Linked DNA regions of Homo sapiens: region 1 is linked to region 2. The links are contacts of gene promoters, found by promoter capture Hi-C in blood cells and fetal thymus (Javierre and others, 2016). All regions are on one chromosome and are shown on one strand. The core of a region is centred on a gene start or on the middle of the fragment in contact, and the rest is flanking DNA. Distances in the headings are between cores, read along the strand shown. Region 1 holds the start of VNN2 (vanin 2). Region 2 holds the start of TAAR5 (trace amine associated receptor 5).

Region 1 (3,151 bases), core at 39-2,538, 170 kb before region 2:
GAGATCACATCCTGTATTTGTTGTTATTATTGTTTTTTTTTTTTTTTTTTTTTTTGAGACGGAGTTTCGCTCTGTCGCCCAGCCTGGAGCGCAATGGTGTGATCTCAGCTCACTGCAGCCTCTGCCTCCTGGGTTCCAGCGATTCTCCTGCCTCAGCCTCCCGAGTAGCTGGGATTACAGGCGCCCACCACCACGACCAGCTACTTTTTGTGTTTTTGGTAGAGATGGGGGGTTCCACTATGTTGGCCAGGCTGGTCTTGAACTCCTGACCTCAGGTGATCTGCCTGCCTCGGCCTCCCAAAGTGCTAGGATTACAGGCATGAGCCACTGCACCTGGCCTGTTAGCATTGTTTTTAAACTCATTGTTGTTATTTGCTGCTAACAAAAATGTAAGTTACATCTTCTCCTTATTACAACACAGATGATCTTTATCACCAATCCTGGACTCTTCCCCTTCCCTGGCATCTTCCTCCAAAGCAGGGGGTGGGGAGGGAGGAAAAAGAAGGAGGAGAAGGAGTAGGAGGAGAAGGAGAAGTAGGGGGAGGATGGGGAGGGAAGGGTGAAAGAGAGAAAGAAGGAAAGAAGCGGAGTATCCTGAGGCCTGGGGCCCCTGAGCTGAGATTCCTCCTCTGGCCTAGGTGCCTCGGGGTATTGTTGCTGTAGGCACTAACTATACAGCAGTGAACAAACCAGACACAAAATCCTGCTTTTCTGGAGCACATGTTTTCAGTCCTTAATAGCAATAAGTAAGTCAGAGTGTAGATTTGGGTAAATTTTGTTATCAATATTGTCCTGTGTTACATTTTCTTAGTAGTAAGTATTTAATATTTTCCCCCCCGTCTAAAAATAAACACAATGTAAGTGACTCAACAGAACCAAAAAAATTGTTGTCAATTTTTAAATTTAATAAATGAGATATTTGTTGGGATGTGATTTTTTTACACGAGAGTTAGTTATGAGTTTCTATTAACAAAAGCTGGAATTGTTCTATATTTGAATTCGGGTGTCTTTTGGAAATTCAATATTAAATCTTAGTACTAATAGTACATGCTGTTCAATCCCTGTAATACTTTCTGATTGTCTTAAATGGACTGCAACTTTTCTTTCTTTAAAAGTGGTCAGATATATTGCGTTCTTAAGATTATAAAGTAGGCCAAGTGCAGTGGCTCACGCCTGTAATCCCAGCACTTTGAGAGGCTGAGGTGGATGGATCACAAGATCAGGAGTTTGAGACCAGCCTGGCCAATATTGTGAAACCCCATCTCTACTAAAAATACAAAAATTAGCTGGACGTGGTGGCGCGCACCTGTAGTCCTAGCTGTTTCAGAGACTGAAGAAGGACAATCGCTTGAACCTGGGAGGTGGAAGTTGTAGTGAGCTGAGCTTGCGCCACTGCATTCCAGCCTGGGTGACAGAGCAAACTCCGCCTCAAAAAAAAAAAAAAAAAAAAAAAAGAAGAAGAAGAAGAAGAAGAAGAAGAAGAAGAAGAAGAAAAATGATGATAAAGTAAAAGGCCAGTAACTGGCAGCCACATGTTATGCAAACATTCTCCCCTCTGTAAATACTACATGAATGTTATTTTTGCTTTCAGAAATCACTAAACCTTGGCCATGGTCACTTCCTCTTTTCCAATCTCTGTGGCAGTTTTTGCCCTAATAACCCTGCAGGTTGGTACTCAGGACAGTTTTATAGCTGCAGTGTATGAACATGCTGTCATTTTGCCAAATAAAACAGAAACACCAGTTTCTCAGGAGGATGCCTTGAATCTCATGAACGAGAATATAGACATTCTGGAGACAGCGATCAAGCAGGCAGCTGAGCAGGTATTCTCTTATTTCTGTTAATCATAATGTACACGAGGGGCATGGGAGCTGGTGGAAGACGAGAGAGCTGAATTGTCTGTGTTGTACATGGAAAAATCATTTTTATTTTGCTTGTTTTGAACAGGGTGCTCGAATCATTGTGACTCCAGAAGATGCACTTTATGGATGGAAATTTACCAGGGAAACTGTTTTCCCTTATCTGGAGGATATCCCAGACCCTCAGGTGAACTGGATTCCGTGTCAAGACCCCCACAGGTATTTTAACTATCTTAGTCTTTTGTGCAAAAGTAACTCTCTAAAATGCGCACGTTCACCAAAGCAAAATGATTGCTCTTGAATTACCATATATGTGGTATATGTTATGGTTATATTTATCTCAACATTTGTCAGATTTTAAAAAATTGTACTTAGATACTATTTAACAATCTTTTGTGATTGAAAATCTTTATTAAATTTTGAGAAAATGTGTAAATAGGGTATTCCTGCAAGAAAAACTAAGGGAAGAGATCTCATAGATACAAGTAGTAACTTAATTTCTGAAGTAGACAGTGGATTGTGTTAGGAATACATTCCAAAGCCTCTGCTGAAGGGACACCCTTTCAATGTTATAGAGTCTCTCCATTCCAGAGTTGCTTCTTAGGCAGAAAGACTTCACCATGTATTTTCAAGTGAATCATAAGACCTTATGCTTTGAAACTGCATTTTCCTAGGCTCACAAATCTAATTTTCCTGGGAAAAGGTTATCTAGAAACCTTCTAATATATATTAAAAATCTGGGTCCTACTGTCATCCTGGAGGTGTCAACGTGGCAGTTGCATGGACAAGTCTGGCATGAAAAGACAAAATTATATCTGGAGATAGAAAATCAAATGTCAGCATATAGATGGTGTTAAACACCATGATGAGTTCACCTGTGGAGTGAGTTAGAGAAGAGTTTAGGTATAAGGCTTGAGCACTAGGAAATTCTAGTGTTTAGACTCGGAAGAAAACGAGGAATCAGCAGAAGAGTCGAAGAAGAGCAACCAATAAATAGGAAAATGAGAGGGTGGGTCCAATAGAGAAGTGAGGTGTTTCCAGAAGGAGGTGTAATTAACTGTGCCAACTGCTGTTGAAAAGTTAAGATGAGATCAGGTAAAATGTGGGGGTCACTGCTGGCATTAGTAAGAGTTTGGGTGATAGAGATACAAGTTGGAGTGCTCTGAAAGGGAATGGGAGAGGAGGAACTGGCAACAGCAAGAGGGACTGATCTTTTGAGGAGTTTTGCTTTAAGAGAGAGATGAGGATTAAAGCAATATTTGGAAGGGCATGTTTGGAAAGGTCAAAAGAGG
Region 2 (3,245 bases), core at 641-3,140:
TGACTTTTAAGCTAAAGGGGTTTCAAGGTACCTAGTAATGCAATATCCTTCCTTGTGTCTGATTAAGTTCTGGAGCCAGATATGTATTTCCACACATATGAAGCTGGCATAAGGCAAGATTCCAGCGGTAGCCAGGCTATAGGGAGCTTTGCCTTGGGAAACACTGGGTTTAGCCATGGATTTGTAGAGAAAGGAGAGGTGCATACCAACCTCCTTCCTTCTTTTTGACCTGCCCCACCTCCTCTTCCAGGCCCCTCTGGCAGATGTAATTTGGTGTCACCTCTAGAATTCTGTCATTTTTACAACTTTAGTTTGACTGATACTGTGAAATGGTTTCTCTGTAACCATAAAGAGGCATACCAGCTTCTAAGATATCAAGAGGCAGAGAGCAGAATACGATTCAACATGTTATTTACCTTGATAATATCCCTGTGAAATCAAGTTACACAGGTATAATTGTACCTACTCTTACCAATGGGGAAGCAGAGAGAGAGGTTAGGTATGGCATAAGAAAGGATGAAACAGGAATTTAACTATTCTTCCTCCAGGTGAACTGCTTCATCTACCATGCTTTCTTTCACCATCACAAAATATAGTGCTCAAAAAACACATAATGATGAATCCTGTGTGGAAGTCACAAACCACCCCTTCATGAACCAAAAAACCCATGATCAATTATTCTCAACTATTTCTCATGTTGAGAGAAATATACACAAATAATACTAAAGCAGAAGAAAAATAAGAAACTCACTAAAAATGAAATTAGAAAATATATAGCAGCCATTAGCAGGCAAGAATACCTTCAAAACATCCCAGAACTGAAAAATTAAAAAAGAATATATACATCCACCGTCTTTAAATTTTATCTCTAATTAATTGTCAGGGTAAGTGATTCTGTATTGAGGAGGAACCTTAAACAACTGAGACTTGCAAATAGTGCAAACTAGGTCCCATGGTGCCTCTTCACAGCTTATTTGTATCATAGCACATGGAGGAGTAGTTTCTATTGAGAGTATAAAATCGTTAACTAATTGCACACCTGTCATTGTGGCCAACAGAAGAGTACTCTGACATTCCCTGTGTCCACCTGCTCCAAGAAACATTTTTTCCCAGGAAGGGATTCTGATTCCTACCTGTGTAAGTAACTTAGAAACTCTGAATTCAATATATTAGGACTTGGTTAATAATTCACAGACTTACATTAAGATGTTAAATAGATAAAATCATTTTGCCTATCAAATAGTTATACCAAGATGTGTAAACACTTTGTGTTATCATCATAAAATGTGCAGCATTTAAAGCTAAAATAGAGCAATTTTCTACTCTTTTAATTATTAATATTTGCATGCTGAATTCTTCTCTTGGGAAGAGTTGGCATGTAGCTAAAAATCTTAATCTGCTAACTTTATTGTCAATGTATGTAATTCTTAAAGAGAGAAGCTAGAAGTTACACTTTTTCCAAGGAATAATTTATTAACAAGAATTAATTGGTCACTTGGTTCAGATCTTTGCTTTAAATTTCACTTTACATTTGACAAAAAATACCTTATCAAAACGTAAGAGACATTCTCTATTATTTAATACTACCTATGGATATAATCAAGCTTTCTTTGAGGAAACATTCAGCTTACATCCTTCTTTTCTTTCTTTAAGAATACTACCTACACTAGTTTTAAAGTGCCTAGTCATATAAACTAGAGCTAGCAGAAGTAACTCTCATGAAACCTTGAATACTATGCTGCATTTGATTTTCAGGGCACATTTGATTCAGTACCCAGGGGCACTGTACTATGTTCCAAACTGTACTTTAGTTTCTTCCTCTTCGTTTCACTCTGTGATTATTTAGCAGACATATTTTTTTTTTTTTTTTTTTTTTTTTTTTTTTTTTGCCCTCCAGTGGAGAAGGTGGCCAGTTCTCAGACAGAGGAAGAGTAGAAATCATAAATGAGAGCTGTCTTCATCCAAGGTGCTGAAGAGCACCCTGCGGCATTCTGCTACCAGGTGAATGGGTCTTGCCCCAGGACAGTACATACTCTGGGCATCCAGTTGGTCATCTACCTGGCCTGTGCAGCAGGCATGCTGATTATCGTGCTAGGGAATGTATTTGTGGCATTTGCTGTGTCCTACTTCAAAGCGCTTCACACGCCCACCAACTTCCTGCTGCTCTCCCTGGCCCTGGCTGACATGTTTCTGGGTCTGCTGGTGCTGCCCCTCAGCACCATTCGCTCAGTGGAGAGCTGCTGGTTCTTCGGGGACTTCCTCTGCCGCCTGCACACCTACCTGGACACCCTCTTCTGCCTCACCTCCATCTTCCATCTCTGTTTCATTTCCATTGACCGCCACTGTGCCATCTGTGACCCCCTGCTCTATCCCTCCAAGTTCACAGTGAGGGTGGCTCTCAGGTACATCCTGGCAGGATGGGGGGTGCCCGCAGCATACACTTCGTTATTCCTCTACACAGATGTGGTAGAGACAAGGCTCAGCCAGTGGCTGGAAGAGATGCCTTGTGTGGGCAGTTGCCAGCTGCTGCTCAATAAATTTTGGGGCTGGTTAAACTTCCCTTTGTTCTTTGTCCCCTGCCTCATTATGATCAGCTTGTATGTGAAGATCTTTGTGGTTGCTACCAGACAGGCTCAGCAGATTACCACATTGAGCAAAAGCCTGGCTGGGGCTGCCAAGCATGAGAGAAAAGCTGCCAAGACCCTGGGCATTGCTGTGGGCATATACCTCTTGTGCTGGCTGCCCTTCACCATAGACACGATGGTCGACAGCCTCCTTCACTTTATCACACCCCCACTGGTCTTTGACATCTTTATCTGGTTTGCTTACTTCAACTCAGCCTGCAACCCCATCATCTATGTCTTTTCCTACCAGTGGTTTCGGAAGGCACTGAAACTCACACTGAGCCAGAAGGTCTTCTCACCGCAGACACGCACTGTTGATTTGTACCAAGAATGATTCCTTCTACTAAATGCAGGCAAGGAGTAGGACCTCACAGGAAAGATAAGTGGCACTGTGACCGTGGGCTGTGTGGTGTTGAGTTTGTGGGCATGCTTCCAGGACAGCATGGGTTAAGTAGAAGAGAAAGACAAGCTCCTTAACTTGGAAAGGGATAAAGCACTCCCCACATTCAATGTTTTATATATATGTATGTATATACACGTATATATATATATACGTATATATATATTTATTATACTTTAAGTTCTAGGGTACATGTGCACAACGTGCAGGTTTGTTACATA

Evidence for each region. Contacts are between HindIII fragments. The CHiCAGO score rates a contact against its expected background, and 5 or more counts as called.
Region 1: a contact is called between a fragment that was not itself captured here and the fragment with the promoter of TAAR5 in region 2, in 1 of 17 cell types (monocytes). The highest score is 5.9, in monocytes.

What each region holds. Positions count from the first base shown.
Region 1 is chr6:132,756,343-132,759,493 of GRCh38, reverse strand. It overlaps VNN2 (vanin 2), which reads left to right and starts at 1,590. Exons shown (of 7, transcript NM_004665.6): 1 at 1,590-1,823; 2 at 1,948-2,078. The coding sequence starts at 1,611. The HindIII fragment of the contact is 9,752 bases long and covers 1-3,151 here.
Region 2 is chr6:132,588,386-132,591,630 of GRCh38, reverse strand. It overlaps TAAR5 (trace amine associated receptor 5), which reads left to right and starts at 1,890. Exons shown (of 1, transcript NM_003967.3): 1 at 1,890-3,039. The coding sequence starts at 1,945. The coding sequence ends at 2,958. The HindIII fragment of the contact is 5,426 bases long and covers 1,607-3,245 here.